Linked DNA regions of Homo sapiens: regions 1, 2, 3, 5 and 6 are each linked to region 4. The links are contacts of gene promoters, found by promoter capture Hi-C in human tissues and cell types (Jung and others, 2019). All regions are on one chromosome and are shown on one strand. Each heading gives the region's core, a stretch centred on a gene start or on the middle of the fragment in contact. The rest is flanking DNA. Distances are from core to core; before and after follow the strand shown. Region 1 has its middle 93 kb from the start of SHISA6. Region 2 overlaps SHISA6 (shisa family member 6). Region 3 overlaps SHISA6 (shisa family member 6). Region 4 holds the start of SHISA6 (shisa family member 6). Region 5 overlaps SHISA6 (shisa family member 6). Region 6 has its middle 71 kb from the start of SHISA6.

What was found. Contacts are between HindIII fragments. The study calls those that stand out against the background at their distance.
Region 1: a contact is called between a fragment that was not itself captured here and the fragment with the promoter of SHISA6 in region 4, in 3 of the 25 tissues and cell types used here (liver, mesendoderm cells and thymus).
Region 2: a fragment that was not itself captured here is called in contact with the fragment with the promoter of SHISA6 in region 4 in 2 of the 25 tissues and cell types used here (bladder and hippocampus).
Region 3: a contact is called between a fragment that was not itself captured here and the fragment with the promoter of SHISA6 in region 4, in 2 of the 25 tissues and cell types used here (spleen and thymus).
Region 5: a fragment that was not itself captured here is called in contact with the fragment with the promoter of SHISA6 in region 4 in 2 of the 25 tissues and cell types used here (mesendoderm cells and neural progenitor cells).
Region 6: a contact is called between a fragment that was not itself captured here and the fragment with the promoter of SHISA6 in region 4, in 2 of the 25 tissues and cell types used here (neural progenitor cells and spleen).

What each region holds. Positions count from the first base shown.
Region 1 is chr17:11,147,036-11,150,132 of GRCh38, reverse strand. No RefSeq gene overlaps it. Among named protein-coding and RNA genes, the nearest start is that of SHISA6, 93 kb to the left of the region's middle. The HindIII fragment of the contact is 6,732 bases long and covers 1-3,097 here.
Region 2 is chr17:11,365,645-11,368,756 of GRCh38, reverse strand. The region is part of intron 2 of SHISA6 (shisa family member 6); the gene reads right to left. Among named protein-coding and RNA genes, the nearest start is that of SHISA6, 130 kb to the right of the region's middle. The HindIII fragment of the contact is 3,398 bases long and covers 95-3,112 here.
Region 3 is chr17:11,347,788-11,350,984 of GRCh38, reverse strand. The region is part of intron 2 of SHISA6 (shisa family member 6); the gene reads right to left. Among named protein-coding and RNA genes, the nearest start is that of SHISA6, 110 kb to the right of the region's middle. The HindIII fragment of the contact is 8,299 bases long and covers 1-3,197 here.
Region 4 is chr17:11,239,871-11,242,745 of GRCh38, reverse strand. It overlaps SHISA6 (shisa family member 6), which reads right to left and starts at 1,533. Exons shown (of 6, transcript NM_207386.4): 1 at 686-1,533. The coding sequence starts at 1,323. The HindIII fragment of the contact is 17,378 bases long and covers 1-2,875 here.
Region 5 is chr17:11,320,197-11,323,525 of GRCh38, reverse strand. All of the region lies in intron 2 of SHISA6 (shisa family member 6), which reads right to left. Among named protein-coding and RNA genes, the nearest start is that of SHISA6, 81 kb to the right of the region's middle. The HindIII fragment of the contact is 9,815 bases long and covers 1-3,329 here.
Region 6 is chr17:11,169,190-11,172,188 of GRCh38, reverse strand. No RefSeq gene overlaps it. Among named protein-coding and RNA genes, the nearest start is that of SHISA6, 71 kb to the left of the region's middle. The HindIII fragment of the contact is 5,074 bases long and covers 1-2,999 here.

The DNA of each region.
Region 1 (3,097 bases), core at 131-2,630, 92 kb after region 4:
GGAAGGAGAAAGGGCTTCATTTACAAGCCTTCCAAGACTCACCATTCTGCTTTGCTTCCCACGGCTCCCAGCTCTATCTTGGGCCTCTGACCGTTTATTTGGGAAGGAGGTTTTCTCTAGGATGCCTCTTCCTCTGCGTGGCACCCTCAGAAGGGCAAATTGGCCAGGCCCTACTTCCTTCATTATGCTGTTCTTCACAACACTGCTGGTAGGCATATGTGCATGTGTCTACCGCCATAACATGCAGAACGCCTCTGATCTCCTTTGATATATATGTATATGTCTGTATGCATGTCGACTGTTCTGCAGGATTGTAATAACAAAAGGAAACCATAATACAAGAGCACAGATATCTAAAATTTCCGTTGCCATAATACAAAGGAAAAACACAATATGAAATCCGTATAGGGATGCTCTTATGGGCTCCCCTAATTCCTAGCCATACACCCTTATTTTGGGGGTCTGCTCCTTATTGAGAAGCATCTCTCCCTATTCTCCTTCCTGTGATTCATTATTCATTTCAGCAAAATGTTCTTCCTCCCTGCAGAGACTGATCTCAAACCAGTAGCTGCCTCCTTCCCCACTAGCAGAACTTTTATCTAGCTCTCAGTCCATTTAAGACAGTATCCCAGAGAGAGTTGATGGTGGACTTGGCATCCCCAGTCCCACAGAATCGTCCCGAGCTGGCCTGGACACTCCTCATCCGGTCCCCTTGGGGTCTCCATACCACAGTGAGTTGGAGACAATCTTCATAGCCTATTGATTGCTCATTGGAAGCTGTGGGCTCTCCCTGCAACCTTGCACTCATCAACCACACTTTTCTCCACTGCACGTACACACAGCTCTCAAAGATAAATATTAACTATCAGATCTATTAGTCTAAGCCCATAAAATGGAAGAGAAATACTTTTTAAATATCCCCGTAGTTTTCAAAGCCTCTTCTCTCCATGTAGTTAACACCTTATGTAATTTACCTTTGAACAATGTAAGTACTCCCACCCTTTCAAACTGTGACTCCTAGGACCTGTTGAAAATAAGAAATGGGCCCATTTTCCAGCTTTATGCCGCTTAAGAACTGCTCTTATAACTACCCAAACGCCTCACAGAGGTTTTGTAATTAGTTCTGGAAAGAGCTAGATTAAATTCTTAGCCAAGGGACATTCTCTTCCCCATTCTCTTCCCCAGAGTCCCTGAAGGAAGAGAAAAAAAGATGGTTTTGTTTCTCTAGCAATATAAAATTATAAATTTTGAGATACAAATTGAACTGGGAGGACAGATATTCAAAGTGGAGAGATGTGAGTACGAGCCCAGTGGCTGAACGTAATGGACATAACCTAGTTTAAATTAACTTGTCTAAAAACGGGAAAGCAATTAATTGCATATATCTATAGGGGGGCATCAAATTAAAGGTAATGTTTTCTCATTTCTTTGAAAATGTTTTCGTAGTTTTATTTATTTACTTGTTTTTGAGACGGAGTTTCACTCTTGTCGCCCAGGCTGGAGTGCAGTGGCACGATCTCGGCTCACTGCAAGCTCTGCCTCCCGGGTTCACGCCATTCTCCTGCCTCAGCCTGCCGAGTAGCTGGGTTTACAGGCGCCCGCCACCATGTCCAGCTAATTTTTTGTATTTTAGTAAAGACGGGGTTTCCCCATGTTGGCCAGGCTGGTCTTGAACTCCTGACATCAGGTGATCCACCCGCCTCGGCCTCCCAAAGTGCTGGGATTACAGGTGTGAGCCACCACGCCTGGCCTGTAGTTTAAAAAATTAATTTAAAAAAGAGTGTCAGCTCACTAAAACGAAAACACGAAATCATTTTTTTTTCAATTTCTGCTGCGACTTGTGTTTCATTCAACGTTTCCCCCACGTGATAGTGGATTCTCCTCCCGATAGCACAGTTGAATTCCATTGTTCTTTGATCACTTTTAGTTATTAGATCCGTCTTACATCCTTTCTCTTAGATTCAGTGTTGTTTATTTTGATGGTTAATTTTATAATCATTTTAAGGTCCTCCTCACCAATCCCTGCCTATAGGGGTTACACTTGTGGCTCGTGGCTTGAATATAGAGGTGGCACATACCGCATCGATGTCATAGCCCAAAGGAAGGAGAGGAGTGCCACGGGGCCCTTATTGGCTGACCCGTAGCAAAGTCACCACTTCTTTCTGTTGGCTTTTGTCTGTTTTCCGACAGCCAGTAGCCATCGATTCTAACTGTGTATCAAGTCTCCAAGACACATAGCTGTCAGATTCCAAGAATACTGGTTATTTCAGAGAGGGTGTTGGCTGGTGTTTCTGAGAGCCCTGGGGGACCCACTGCCTGCACATTCCTTTGGATTTGTTTCTCAATTTCAATATATCCCCCTCCTCCCAAAACTCACTACAGGCCTATCCCATCTTGCTTCTTTGTCCCCCATACCATGCCTGCAGCCTTATAGGCTGAAATAGCTTCAAGATATCTGGAGCTATCTACCTTTATGTCTTAGAAAACTTACACATCTTTGCCACATGAAAATGTGAGGAGTTCTGGCTCCCCCACGGAAGTCTCCCCCCATTGCAGCCGTATCTTCTCTCTTCTACCTTTATTGACATGCCCTACTGGTAATTAGGTTTGCCAGTCCATTCGTTTGTCACCTTTCTGACAAGATGATCTTCTCATCCCAGAATTAGTGGAGGGAGAAAAGATTTAGGCACTTCCCACTGTGTGGTGGTTTGTCTTGGTGGCGCCTTCCCTCAGCCTTGGAGAGAAGAGAGAGCTACTTTTTGTAAACATGACATTTCTTCAAAATGCCACCTCCTCTCTCTCTCAGCCATCTTTTTATATTAGAGTGGTGCGTGGGGAGTAGGTGGGCAGTGCTAGATTTTCTGAATGGCATCATTTTACACACCCTGAAGGAAGAGGACTGACTGCATAGCTAGTGACCCCCTCAACTGAAAATGTAGGGTACGTTGCAAATTTTCTTTTTCGTAGTGGACCGGAGTAACTGTTATGGACTGAATGTTTGCATCCTTCCAAGTTCATCTGCTGAAGACTTAACCCCCAATGTTGTGGTGTGAGGAGGTGGAGCCTTTGGGAGGTAATTAGGTTTAGAAGAGGTCAT
Region 2 (3,112 bases), core at 544-3,043, 130 kb before region 4:
TGAACCTGGGAGGCAGAGGTTGCAGTGAGTCAAGACTGTGCCACTGCACTCCAGCCTGGGCGACAGAGCAAGACTCTGTCTCAAAAAATAAATAAATAAATAACCGAACAAACGAAAAACAAAAAACCCCAACAATTCATATAAAGCACAGTGCCCCTTACAGTTATTTGATAAATAGTTACTATCATTACTAGTACTACTACCATTACTACTAGAAGAGCAAAACTCAAGTATACTGAATATTTCAAAATATTCCAGGGAGAAAGTCAAGGAAGAGTCTTAAGTCCAAAATTATTCAAAGCTCCAGGAAGGACTCTTCTCTACCCCATACTTCTGGGAGAGTATCAGTTTTCATGCTGGTAATGTCATGGTTTAGGGCACTCACTGCGATTCTCCTGAATGTGCTTTGGAAAAAACAGACCCGCTAATTAAGATTAGTAGGAGAAAACACGTCAGCTCATCTCACCTCCAAAAGGAAGCGCTCCATCTCACACCTGCCTGCACTGGTTCCTCTGTGATTCTGTGATCCCTGTCTTGCTCCTGACATGCTGGGAAATTTCATGTTTGTGTGGGTTGGACCATGTCCTTGGCTCTGAGACAGAATTTGCTTGGACACACCGAGTCTTGTACTGTATTGTCCAAATGTAGTCACGTGTATAGAGCGTCTTGTGGGATTTTGTCATCTATTGTCTCTTGATTCTTTGGAAAAGTGGGTCATGTGAGTGACTTGGGGTTAGATTAATTCAACTTTGGGAAGATGATGGAACTATAAGCACTCTAGGTGGGGGAGCTGTCCGGCCAGCATCTGCTCAAGGGACCACACCTCTTCCCAAGCACCTAAGAGAGAACTTTCCAACCCAGAGCAAAATAAACAATTGGAGAGGGAGAAAATTTGAGGGGCTAAACTATTTTTCAGACTGTAATGCCCAGTAGGAAGGTGATTTCATTTGCAGACTGTTATACCCTGAGCCTTCCTTGCCTCCTTATCCAGTTGTGTTGGCATGGTCCATCCTCAGCATCCTCAGCCTCCATCTCATTCCATGCATTCACTCAGCAAAACCGCCAGTGGTGAGAGCCCACCAGCTACATCTAGTAGATGTGGGACTTTAGATGTAAAGGGCTTAGAACAGCACCTGGGGTGTGTTCACCAATATCACTGTGACTGCCCAGGGTCTCTTAGAATTGAGAACCACAAGTTTCAAAGGGCCCCTCACCTCTTGGGAATTGTGCTTTCCTTCCCTGGAATGTTGGTTCTTCCAATTCCCAAATGTTTTTTATAGTTTCTGCTGTTCCTGAAACCTCCAGTGTTCCCTGTTCTCTGTGCCCTTCAACTCATGACCTTGCCTCATCGGAAAGGAACTCTGTTGTTCACAGGGAATTTACAGCCATCCCCTTTCTCTGTCCTCCCTGCTATGAAAGTGAGTCCAATGTCCTTGTTCCAAGCATGGCCTATCCCTTTTCATCATCTCAAGGACTTAGCTCCTGAAATTCTCCCTCTCCTCCTCAGTCATCAATTTCTCTCCCTCAATGGGCTCATTCATACTGAAACTTCTCAACTCTTATGACTTTACATGTTCTATTCTCCCTTCACCCCATTCCCCCAGCCAAGTCACCGTCCCATTTCTCCACTGTCCTTCTCTATGAAATGTCAAAAGAGTTGCTGATAGTAACTTTCTTTGCCTCACAGTTTGTCCTCAATTCCCTCTTGCCCATCCTGTAGGTCTGTCTGTCCATCTCTCCTTTCCGTTCTTCTTATCACCATAAATCCTTATCATATGGATTAAAGTCCAACCTAATTCAGTATGACCTCATCTTAATTTGATTATATCTGCCAAAATCCTGATCTCAAGTAAGGTTCAGCAATTCGGACTTCAACATATCTTTTATGGGGGCAAAATTTAACCCATGACAATGGCCAAAAGAAAACTTTATTCCTGCAACCCTCCACATACACCATTTCTCCTCCAGTCTTTCTTGTCATTGCTTCCTCTGTTCTAGAGCCTTTATTCCTCTCTTCATCTTCTCCTCCCTATCATCAGCAAGGCCCATCAGGACGATTTGCAAGCTTCATTTCACATCCACCCACTCTTCTCCATCTGTCCTGCCACCTCCCAGGAGTGCTGCCACCATCCCTCATCTGACCTGCTACAGCAGGAGGACTGAGCTTCCTGCTTCCACTCCTTACCCACTTCCATCGACTCTCTAGATTCTCTGCATAACACACAGAAAAGTCTTCTCCTAAAAATAGACATCTGCTCATTCTATGCCTCTCCTTAAAATCTTCCAAGGCGTCATATTACACTTAACATACAAATGTAGCTGGGCACAGTGGCTCATGCCTGTAATCCCAGCACTTTCTGAGGCCAAGGCAAGCAGATCACTTGAGCTCAGGCACTTGAGACCTGCCTGGGCAACAAGGCGAAACCCCACCTCTACAAAAAATTAGCTGGGCATGGTGGCATGTGCCTGTAGTCCCAGCTACTCAGGAGGCTTAGGTGGGAGGATCACCTGAGCCCGGGAGGTGGAGGTTGCAGTGAGCCAAGATCCTGTCACTGCACTCCACCCTGGGTAACAGAATGAGATCTTGTCTCAAAAATATACATATATACAAATGTAAAATAATCTACAGGACATTACACACCATGGCCCTGCCAGCTTCCCTCCCTCACACCACTTTTCCCTTGGCTCCCTATAGCCATAGCAAATTCCTTCTGTTTTTCTAGCATTCCCAGCTTATGCCTGTCTTACATCCTTTGCACTTGCAGTTCCCTCTTCCTGGAACTCTCTGTCCTCAGATGTTTGTAAACCTAGATTCTTGTTAATCATTTAGATTTTTATTGTAAGGCTTGCCTCCTGAGAGAGACTTTCTCTAATCACCCAATCTATTGTAGGCTCCCCAACATTCTCTATCACATTACTGTATTTTCATCAAGGGCATGTATCATTCTATAAAACTATCTTGTTCACCTACTTGGTTATTGTTTATTGTCCATCTCCCTTCTTAAAGCTTCCACAAGAGGGATATCCTGTACCTAGAGCAGTGCTGGGCACATAGGATATATCTGTTGATAGTTGCCAATGGATTAACGGACTAAATGAACTTCTCTCAATA
Region 3 (3,197 bases), core at 81-2,580, 110 kb before region 4:
GACATGAACTCATTCTTTTTTATGGCTGCATAGTATTCCATGGTGTATATGTGCCACATTTTCTTTATCCAGTCTATAACTGATGGGCATTTGGGTTGGTTCCAAGTCTTCGCTATTGTAAACAGTGCTGCAATAAACATATGTGTGCATGTGTCTTCATAGTAGAATGATTTTATGCCATGCTATGGAGTTTTTAATCTTTTGGCCAGTATGAAACTAGTAAGGAATTTTGAGTGAGGGAATGGCATGACCAGATTTATATACTAGAAAAAATGCTCTGATCACTCTACAATAATTAAATAAAGATAAAGGTAAGATAAAAGGCAGAAAAATAGTAAGCAGAATAGTTAATGGTCCAGTGAGAGATGATTGACAGTGGACTGAGGGAAGAGGGGATAGAACTGAGATGTAAAGAGAAGGAATCAACTAGATATGATGTTTGATTAGATATCTGATGAGGCTCTTGGTTTGGTTTCTTCATAAGCTGACCCTTAAATGGGTCCTCGGCTGGGCACGGTGGCCCATGCCTGTAATCTCAGCACTTTGGGAGTCTGAGGTGGGTGGATCACAAGGTCAGGAGATCGAGACCATCCTTGCCAACACGGTGAAACCCCGTCTCTACTAAAATGACAAAAAAATTAGCCGGGCGTGGTGGCAGGCGCCTGTAGTCCCAGCTACTCGGGAGGCTGAGGCAGGAGAATGGCGTGAACCCGGGAGGCGGAGCTTGCAGTGAGCCGAGATCGCGCCACTGCACTCCAGCCTGGGCGACAGAGCGAGACTCCGTCTCAAAAAAAAAAAAAAATAAATAAATAAATAAATAAATAAATTAGCCGGGCATGGCGGTGCCTGCCTGTAATCCCAGCTACTTCGGAGGCTGAGGCAGGGGAATCACTTGAACCTGGGAGGCGGGTTCAACAAAAAAAAAGGTGGGGAGAACATGGTTTTCTATGGCTTTCAGAAAGCCACCCACAAAGAAAATGTGAAAGGAACCATTTATCCAGATAAGCAGAGGATGTTTCTGCACTCTCCTTTTGTCCCTCTTGGGTCTTGCATTTCCCCTTAACGTTTATTAACAGAAGGCCCAGTGCAGGGGCTTAACCCTGAGCCCACAATCTTCCACTTCTATTCATTTTGACTCTCCACGTGATTCATTTTTGCCTGTTTCCAACCTATTGCTTTGAAACTCTTAATCTGAATAATCTCTCTTTTTCAAGAGGCCTCATTTCATTCCTTCCTTCCCATCAGTTATCTGACTTAGCAGATAGTGGAGCTGACTGACAGGTAGAATACTGCAGACATTTGGAAAGTGCTGGAGCTTTGTAAACAAAGTGGTTGTCTTTAGCACTGACTTACACATTCACGCGTCCCCCATCCCCAACTGTGGCTGCTCAGCTACAGAACTCACAGCCCAAGGAGGCACAGTCCTGGCATTTACAGTTATCTTCAAAAGTGTTGACCCATAAAATCCATACCATAAATAACTTCCATTGTTACTATGTAGGTGGGTGACAAAAGCCTGACTCAATGGACTTCTGCTAACCAAGCACAGAAAACGATGTCAAATAATCCTAGGCTGATGTATTTACTCCCAAACCAACTCTGAAATCATAGAATCTGAGAGGGGTGTTAACCTAAGAGGTCTGAGTCACGAGCTGATAAATAGTTTCTTTCTGGCCCAATGTGAAAGCTGCACTATGAACAAAATAATACCTTTGGGGGATGAGGTCAGGCCCTCTTTTGTTGTGGATCCATGATGGGCAGAAACAATGGCGAAATGGAATGGTAAATTTATGTGGTGGGAACTCCAGCCAAATTTTTATGGCCAGGCAAGATTTTATACTTCTTTGCAAGGCACAAATAAATGAATCTCACTAACATGTTTATCCAGTGGCATAAAATTAAACCAAAGGATCCCAGACCAAACACAACCTTTAGCTTATTTTGTACCCTGGTGCAGAGCTCCTTTTTTATGAATCCCCCAAAGCTGTAGGAGCTACGCCTATGGTTTCCCCCACTAGTGAAAGCACAGCCAGATGAGTAGGAGAAGCAAAAGAATGGCCAAGTTTCATGATTTCTGTTCTGATACTTGTTTCTATGTTTGCTCAACTCTTCCTATCAGTGGGAAGAATATAAATGCTTCACAAGATAATTATGTGGTTTGAAAGTGAGCAATCTTGATACAAACATGAAATATTATTCCATTTTACTACTTAGGATCTCGAGTGTTAAAATATACAGATTGGGTAGACTGTTAAATATAGGCCCCAAATGAACTTGTTTCTTATGAAGGAAAAGAAAGAGGAAAAAAGGGAAGAAGAAAGAAAGAAAAAACTCAGGGTAGACACTGCTGAGGACCAATAGAATAAAAGGAATAAAACTTCACTCACTAACTCAGACCAAGATTGAGGAGGCCTATTGGGATCATAGAATATTTTTAAAGATGGTTCTATAATTATTAAATTATTTTATAACTATCAAATAATTACTAAATTATTGCATTAAATAATTATTTAATTCTTTTAAATATAGAGGGTGACAAGTGCCGTTAGCTCATCAAGAATTGCCAAGAAAGTCTTTAAAGCCTGCTTTAACAAGAGGCAAAAAATCATTTATAGTTGACATCACTCACGATCTGCAGGTGCATGGCTATTGTTCAGTTTTTGAGAATCATGTATGTTCTTAAGAAGATAGAACACACTGATCCCTGTTTACATAAACAAATAACTTACCAACTCTTTTTGGTCCCATAAATAGAGCAAAGCTAAGCTTCAGCTGAGCTCCTGACCAGACCTTCACAAATTTCAAAGCAATGGGGCCCAATTAAATGCAGTTTCACCATATGTACTCTCAACATATGGAGGACACAAGGCTGGTTGATTCAGCTAGGACATATTTCTGTTGATGCCATTATGCTTTGCCAAGCCACTATATTCTGTAAACAAAATAGAATTTTGCATCTTCTTATGGATGACCAATTAACTCTGGCAGTCCAAAAACAATCCTGTTCACTCTCAGAACATAACTCTGTGTTTCAGTTTCATACATCCCCAAGGATCTTTCTTTGTACAGAAAGTCAGCGCATGAAAGAGAAGCAGAGTGGGTTACGTGGGACAACCCATAAGCACCAGGCCAGATGCAGCTCTGAGTGACCTCAGCTGTCACCTCAGCAGGGCTCCCAGAGAAAAGGGCACCACTCT
Region 4 (2,875 bases), core at 284-2,783:
CCCCACCAGGTTTAACACAGGCGAGTACTGTTAACTCAGAGTTCTGCCTACAGGGTTTCAAAGAACGAGTCCTCTAGTCTCAGCAGGAAAGATAAACATCCCACTCCGCAGGATGCAATGAGGAGACACCATCTGTGCTTGGTCAACATGGAATGGAGAAATCTTTATCCCTACTTCCGGCAGGAGGCATCCTTTCTATAAAACCCCAATTCCTAATGTACGAGAACATCTCAGTTGACCCTAAGCCACTTGGTACCGCTTTCAGTAAGGTTCCAACATTGGTCAGTTTCCTATATTGAAGATGACACTCTGATTTGACTCAAAAAACTAAATGCCATTAAGAACCTACACCAAAGTGCCCTCATGCCAGGAAAGCAGAACCCTGGATCCTCATCCACGATTACAGAATTTGTAACATTCTTACACTTGGAACTTCATGCACTCAACCAATTCTTACTCTGCCTTGTAAATCCCCCTACCACCAAAGCATGCATTCCCGGTTCTGAAGAAATGGAGGAGGGGGCACAAGAAGACCCTGATTTATTGCATGCAAAAGGAGCGATGGTGGAAATGACTAGAGGGCCTGGGGAGGTGTGATGATGCCGAGAGTGAAGAGGACAGGGGAAGCAAGCTGAGAGGGTGAGGCCGCGGGGAGACCGGGGCGCGCGGCACGCGGCGCTCTCACCTGTGGATGTTCATCTCCCGTGGAGGGCGGTGGGCCTTGTCGTAGGAGACCTTGGCGAAGACGCCGGCCACGATGACGAAGGCGATCACCCCGCAGGTGATGTAGACGGTGAAGTTGGTCTTGTCCTTCTCCGGGTCGTACTTGTTCTCGGGCCCCGGCGACACCACCTTGGTGCTGGGCGTCTGTACCCACACCGGGCTCTGGTAGTTGGTGCACTGGCGCTGGTCCAGCTTCTCGTGGCGCTTCTTGCAGCAGAAGCGGTAGTAGCAGGTACCGCAGCAGTACAGGTAGCCGCTCTCGCTGTTGTTACACTCGAACTCCTTGTCGTACTGGCCGCTCACGTCGTAGTAGCCCCAGCACGTCTCGTAGGTGACGGCCGCGCTGGCCGCCGCCGCCACAGCCGCCGCGGGCTGCCCCCGCCGGCTTCCCGCCTCCGGGATTCCGGGCGCCCGGGCGGTGCCGTTCAGCTCGCGGCCGCCCCGTGCCAGGGCGCCCCCGGCCCTCCGGCCCCCGACGGCAGCGCCGCCTGCACTCAGGGTCCGGTTGGCGGCGCGGCCGCGGGCTCCGTGGACGCTGGGCAGCAGGTCCAGGGACTCCAGCGAGAGCAGCAGCAGCAGCAGGAGGCGCCGCAGCGCCATGGCGGGGCCGGGCGGGAGGGCGCGGGGAGGCTTCCGCGGCAGGCCGCTCCCCCGGCGGGCCGGGCTCGGAGGACCCGCCGCGCGGGCCGGGCTGGAGGCGCTGAGCGGTCAGCGGCTCCGGGGCGATGGCGCCATCGAGGCGCGGGCGGCAGTGGCGGCGGCGGCGCGCGGTGCGCACGGACCGGCCCGGCGCGGGCTGCTCGGGCTCTCAGGCTGCGCGCCGGCTCCGCGCTCCCCCTGCGGGCTCGGCGCGCCTCCTGGGCAGCCCCATCCCCCGCCGGCGGTGACTGCGGCCCCGCGCGCGGCTCGGCTCAGGCAGGACCCGAAGCGCGGCTCCGGGCGGCGGCGGCGGCGGCGGCGGCGTGGTCCCGTCCGGGCGGGTCCTGCGGGACAAGACGGGGAGCCGGTCACGGGGTGGGGCGACTGGCGCTCCGGGAGCAGGAGGAGAACCGCGGGCAGGCGGGCGGGGAGGGTGCGCGCAGCCCTCGAGGAGAGAGACTCGGAGCCGGGAGGGGCGTAGAGCCCGCTCCCAAGACGGGGTCCCGCGGCCCTGCGCGCCTGGAACCGAGAGCGCACGGGCCGCCCCTCCAGGCGCAGCTCGGCCGCCCGGGTCCCCCAGCCGCCCGGCCCCGCAGCGCGCTCCCGCCGCAGGCTGGCTCCCTGGGACGGAGCCGGTTGAGGCTGGGGTCCGGCGGCGAGCCGGGAGAGCGCGCGGCGGCTGGACCTCACTCACTCACCATGCCCGGCTGCGACTGCAGAGGCGGCGGCGGCGGCGGCGGCGGCGGCGGCGGGGCGAGGCGGGAACGCAGCTGCCGGAGCGAGCGAGCGGAGAGCCGCCGGCTCGCCGCCTGCACTAGTGCCGGAACGTGTGCGAGAGTGAGCGAGGGAGACACACGCACTCACACACCCGCACACACGGGAGCGCCGCGAGGGGAGGGGGGACAGGGGAGGGGAGGGCAGCCGCTCTCCGCCACCCACGTTTGCACGCCCGGGCGCTCAGGGTGCGGGGCGGGGGGGACTCCTTTTCGCTTCTTCCGGATCGCAGCAGTTGAAGCTCCGCGTCACGAAAGCTCCGGACAGCAGTTATTCGACACGGCGAACCCGGCGGGCGAAGAGGGGGCCGGGAGCAGGGCGGAACGTCCGCTCTGCAGCCGGCCCGCGGCAGGGACTGACCTCCCCTGCCATTGCCTTCTCTAGCCTTCGCGACCAGTCCCCACCCTACCGGAGCCCGGGGCAGCGCGCTGCCTGAGCGGGAGTTGGGGTTTCTGCAAGCCTTTGCCTCTCCCTAGTGGTGATACTCGCAGCCAGGAGAAGAGGTCAAACCCATTGCTACAGGTTCCCAAACTGAGTCCAGGGGTCAAGTGGCTTGTCTGAGGCTGTTGGGCGACCCGTGAGCTGAGCCTACACTCTCTTCCCCTTGGTCACTCTTTCCCCAACCCCGTACCCACTACGCATAAAGGCGCTAGACAGCCCCAGGACTGGATGGCAACTCTTTGCTATACTTTTTTTTTTCCCCGCGGAGCCTCGAGGCCATTAGAAAGCTATCTGAACC
Region 5 (3,329 bases), core at 708-3,207, 80 kb before region 4:
TGCGCCACCACGTCCGGTTAATTTTGTATTTTTAGTAGAGACGGGGTTTCTCCATGTTGGTCAGGCTGGGCTCGAACTCCCGACCTCAGGTGATCCACCCGCCTCGGCCTCCCAAAGTACTGGGATTACAGGTGTGAGCCACCGTGCCCGGCTCATGTGTTATTATTATATGTATTTGATTGTTATGAGGACAATGACCTTGAAAAATCCTTTCTCTCTGTCTCAGGTTCCTTATTTGTATCATAAAGGAAGTTGGATGAGATGAGAGCCAGCTTTCTATTATTCTTTGGTTTGGGAATTATTTTAAGACAAGCTAATGAAGTTTAGATAAAATTAGAACGGTTTGAGATTTAAAGAACTCACCCTGTTCTCAGTGATAGATTAAGGAACAGAATGGAATTCCAAGTTCTTTTGTGAACTTGCTTGCTGAAGGACTTGTGAAACATTTGGTCCTGTGGGCATAGGATGGGAAGACTGGTTAACCTGACCCGAAAAGAATTTTTCAAGAACACCAATGTCAGAGTGAATCACTCCTTTCTTCCCCTAGTTTAACTCTTTCTGCCTCTTTCTCTCAAACTTCAAACCTTTGGGAACCCTTAACTTCTAAAGAAAAATCTCAAAATTTTCTCCTCAACTAAGCACCCTACTGATACCCACTCTTCCATCCCCCACCCAATGTAGCCTTTAAAGAATGGATGTAGTTCCACATTTCTTTTGTAGGAGCCTGAAAATCTTTAGGTTAGATACTTGATAAATGCACTCAAATAGAAATTCAGCATTTCACATTCAGATCAACCCATGTATGCACATAAGAAATTCTCCAACAGGGATCAAATATACTGAATTGGTACCCCTAAGAGGAGAATGATTTTTTGCAAATTAATTAATACAAGTTAGGTTTTTGATTCTAGTATAACTAAATAGGAATTGTATGCCAGTATCTCAAGTCCTCAGCATGTCCTTCGCAACTTTTCTGTAAATCTCATACTGTTCTAAGTTAAGATTATTTTAAGAGAAAAATCATAGCAACTCAAAGATATAGATAAAATTTAAAAATTAAGGGCAAGGCAAAAGAGATGTTTTCAGATAAATACAAGTTAAGAGAATTTATCACCAGCAGATTCACTCTATAAGAAATTGTAAAGAAATTTCTTTCTACTAAATGGAAATAGAGCCAAGGGGAAACCTGAATATCTAGGTGAGGAAAACAAGTCCTGGAAATGGTAAATATATAGATAAATACAAAAAACTCTTTTTTTCTTTTTTACGTTCTTTGACTGAAAAAAAAGGTGAAACAATGTAGAGTGGGGCTTAGAACATATGTAAGAGTAAAACTTATGTCACCAATAGACAAAGGATGGAAGGGATATAAGTAGGATAATACTGCTGAAAAAACCTTACATTGCACATGAAAATAATGTTAACTCATAGTAATGGTAGATACTGATAAATTAAAGAGACATAATCCCTAGAGCAACCACAAAAAGAGTTGTTTAAACTTAAACAACTTAAGTTTTAAATTACTTTAAAAGCCTATAGAAGAAGGGTGTCCAATCTTTTGGCTTTCCTGGGCCACAATGGAAGAAGAAGAATTGTCTTGAGCCACACATAAAATACACTAACACTAACAATAGCTGATGAGCTGAAAAAAAAATTACAAAAAACTCTCAATGTTTTAAGACAGTTTAGGAATTTGTGTTGGGCCACATTCAAAGCCATCCTGGGCTTCATGCAGCCTGTGGGCCACAGGTTGGACAAGCTTGCTATAGAAGAAATGGAATCCAAGCAAAGAACAAAACAACAATAGCAGCAAAAACTTGATTAGCCTGAAAAGGATCAACAAAGAAACAAAAAACGGAGGGACCAGCTAGAAAATAAATAACAAGATAGTAGATTGAAACTCAACTATATAAATAATTACATTAGATACAAGTAAAACAGTGCAATTAAAAGGCAAGGATTGTGAGACTAGCTACAAAAACAAGACCTACCTATACGTTTTTGTAATTGATGCTTTTTAAAAATAAAGTCATAGACAAGCTACAAGTAGAAAGATGCAAATAATCTACCGTGCAAAATCTCAAATCCCTGACTAATATTGTTGGTTGCCAATCCAGAATTCATTCTCATTCCTTTTCTTGTTTGCCTACCTTTCCTAAAGAAGCTGGAAATGTTAACCATTCATGTTACTAGCCTCTCTTGCAGCTAAGAGTGGCCATATAATCTAGTTCTGAGGTAGAGGTATGAACAGAAACTTCCTGACACTGCATTAGCTTTCCTGATACATACGATACATATAGCTAAAATCCTATATCTCCATTAACCCTACCTCAACTATAAAAGTGATGCATGGCACTATAGTAGATAACTTGTGACTTGAGGATCAAGGCCAATACAATGACAAAGATGCTGGCTAGTATATCACTGAGCTGCTTCATAAATACTTCATCCCTCTTATTTGGTGAGAAAAATATACGCCACTTTGTTTATGTGATATTAAGTAGGTATTTAGTGTTTTAAAAAAGCAATCCAAATTTCTAAGTTTAATACAGACATGAAAGAGCATTTTCTGGAATCTACATCTGTATATGATCTGTCTGGTATCACATTTCCCACCCTGAATTACACTCAGATGATACATTTTCACAAAATGATGATTCTCTGGAAAACAAGGTATGTCACACCCATACATGAGTTCTCTGCCTCCTGAAGGCATTATTATGTCATGCAAAAGAAAAGGATGTAGGCTCTAAAAATGAGTGCTTCTCACAGATGTCCCTTTAGTTGCCTGTGTTTTGCTCCGGCTGCTGCTGCTCCTCCTCCTCCTTGGTTTCTTCTCTCTCTCTCTCTCTCTCTTTTTTTTTTTGGTGATGGAGTTTCGCTCTTGTTGCCCAGGCTGGAGTGCAATGGCACAATTTTGGCTCACTGAAGCCTCCACCTCCAGAGTTCAAATGATTCTCCTGCCACAGCCTCCTGAGTAGCTGGGATTACAGGTGCCCACCACCACACCCAGCTAATTTTTGTATTTTTAGTAGAGACGGGATTTCACCATGTTAGCCAGGCTGGTCTTGAACTCCTGACCTCATGATCCACCTGCCTCAGGCTCCTAAAGTGCTGGGATTACAGGCATGAGCCACAGCACCCAGCCTCTTCTCTCTCTCTCTTATACCAGCCCCACCCCCCATGCACAAACACCAGGGAATTACAGACTGGGGAATTAAGACCTATTGCTTCCCAATTTCTCTGAAACAGCTTATTTGTCACTTAATTGTTAAGCATCAAAGCTATCTACAATGTACCCAAAAGAGTCGAGATACAACTAAGGTTCA
Region 6 (2,999 bases), core at 87-2,586, 70 kb after region 4:
ACTACTAAACCAGAAGCCAGAACCGCTTTGACCCTGCCACACAGGCATAACATAGGCAAGCAGCCTACCCATTAACTTAGAGGAAGAAATCCTAGCGGCTTACCATGTCCTTTAGACCTGAGGGACGCAGGAAGAGGAGAGAGACCTTTGGACTCATGGGTGGGAGGTGTTTGGTAGGTGGAAGAAGGCTTGATGAGAGGGTATTTAGGGCTGAAGGAAAAGCAACCAGAGGTGATGACACTCGCTCTGCTGGTTTTAGCAGCTACAGTCACACCTTTTGCCGATCAACGCCTACCCAGTACTGCTTTTTCCGGAAACACTGAGATATGGAAAGTTGCTGTAGGGATCAAAGGAAAAATCTCCCGTTTGCCTTCCGAATATTTGCTGAAAATCAAATGAAAAAGGCAAATTGATAGGAGAAAAGGCATACATATTTATTAACATGCATGGGAGGATATCAGAGTGATCTTCCCACCACACAGTAGGGTATGGGTGCTAAGATACCCTTCTTCTTAGGCGATAGGGAGGTGTGGAAGTATAAACAATTTTGGGGGGTAGTAATGATTTTTTGGGGAATTCAATGGCCTTGAAGAACATACAAAGGGCCTAGGACAAAGTCTGTACAGTCCGCAGACCAGATAATGGTTTGTAACAAAAGTCTGTCCAGGTATGTTGACAGATTTCAGTCTTTTTTCCTGCGATATCAGTTCAGTGAATGAAACTCAGGGAAAGAACCAGAGGTCATTGTTTTCTTTTTTGGCAGGTTTGGACTTCAGGCAGATAAAGGAACTTCAGAGAACAACTTCATCCTATGCTTGGAGAGAGACAGAGATGGGAGGGGAGGAGGAGAGGTCAGAGAGAATTAGAGGCTGCTTCAGTTCTGCATGTTCACAGCACCATATTTTGGGGTATCCACTTCTGAGCCCCAACATTGCTTATCCAGCAGCCTACCAAGTTGTTTTCAGTTTTACTTTAATTGACCCAAAGCTGGCTAATGCAGATATGGAAATGGTCCCTCCCCTAGCATCCCTCGGTGCAGTCAATGAGGCTTAGCGAGAGTACCCAGCATACAAGCAGCTCAGACAGGGGCACCCTCCGTGACCCAGATCAAAGAGATAAGCAACTTGTTTCCGAATGAATTATTGGCTAGAGCAGGTTGGGAGGCGCTCTCATTTTTCTTACAGAGAGCAACCTTGGAAAGGTCTCTCGAGGGGTAGGAGGCTAAGGAAATTCAAGAGATCTCAAGCACTTGAGCTGCGTTTAGTTTTCCTGGCTCACATATCTGATCAAGCCTTGGAATAGTTATCAGGGGCTTTCTCGATTCTTTGCTTCTGTCTCCAGGCCTCCCAACCTGTGGTTAAAAATGAGGTTGCGTCAGTGTGAATTGGATACTCAATGCTGCTGACTCCTGGTCTCTCTACTTGCTCCTTGTAACCTTCCCAAAGCCCCACTGGAAGTGCTCAGGTCCTCAGAGTGTTCACAGATAGCCCTCCTAAGTCCTTCTTCCCTGAGCTTCTTGTCGATGTCTGTGGCAATGTGGCAGCTTGAATGAAGTGCTACCCCACCACTGCTAAGGCTGCCGTGGATTTCCACACAGAATGCTGCTGCTGCTCCCAGCACGCTATCTCCCAGTTCAGCCAGGACTGCAGCGCCCTCAAGACAGTACAGCCAGGTTGTGTCACTGATCCCCGTGGCATTGATCTCAGCATGTGAGCTGGGCTGTCTCCTGTGGTTTTTGCCCAGCAATGGGGAGCATGCCTCCCACCAGCAACTCTCAGCTTTCCTTTTTGTCACTGGAGCCTCAAAGTCTATGCCCCGAATGACAGAAAAATGGTTACTTTGTTTTTTACATCCAGCTTTTCTCTTTTCAGGCAGGGCTAGGGAACAGACACCTGGACTGGTCCGTGGCATGCCTTCTGTCACATCCTTCCTTCCAGGAAGGTTCTTCTGCCTCCTAGACCCTTTCCATATACTTGACTCTATGCAAGGCTCAGCATAATTCCCTTCGATAGGCCCTCAAGTTTTCTGGAGACCTTCCCCAGATGTAGGTGCTGAATAAGAAGATGTGAGATACTATATCATACTCACCATCAAACCCATCCGTTAACTCTCTTCTCTTCTTGGTGCTTCACTGGGTACCACAGAGCATGGCATCCCTGACATGTGCTCTGACCTCACTTAGCATCAACTTCCAGCTCCTATTTGTCTAACACCAATAGCACTCTGAGTTTCCTTCCTGAGCCCCCAGTGGAGTATGAATGAACTCAGTTTATATTAGACTGGCGTGGTGGCCAGTGCCTGTAGTCCCAGCTACTCAGGAGGCTGAGGCAGGAGAATGGTGTGAACCCGGGAGGCAAAACTTGCAGTGAGCTGAGAACGCGCCACTGCACACCAGCCTGGGCGACAGAGCTAGACTCCGTCTCAAAAAAAAAAAAAAGACATGCTTACTGCAGGCTATCAGAAACGGTTTTATTTATTCAGTGTTGAGCAATCTTAAAGTCTACTTCTGCAGCTTGCAACTCACAGTTTCCAAGGGGGATCAAAACAAACAAGAAGGCAGAGATCCAAAGACTAAAGCCAGTCTCAAGCCATCATAGAACATCAGGGGCAACCTGAAAGGGGGAATTGGCCATGGAAGGGCAGCCTGGTCGGTGTGTGGAGAGAGGGGAAGGCCGGCAATACTGGCTGCAGAGTATGGACTAAAGGCCTGTGAAACAGCAGCCTCTTCCCCATTGCCCGAGCTGCTGAATTACCAACAAGAGTGAGTGAGCAACCCTTCAAAGGATGCTCACTCAGGCCCCGCCACACTTTTCCCTGAATCACTGGACCCACCATCATTTGCTGTCAGAGTTAATTCCTCCAAGACAAGGATTCCTTGATATAATGTTATTGAACAAAACAAGCTTGGATTGCCTTCTGGCTTTACAACTCACCTCCTGAATGTCTTTGGTGTTAAGTAACCTCTCTGTACCTGTGTTTCTTAAGCTGTAAAATGGGAA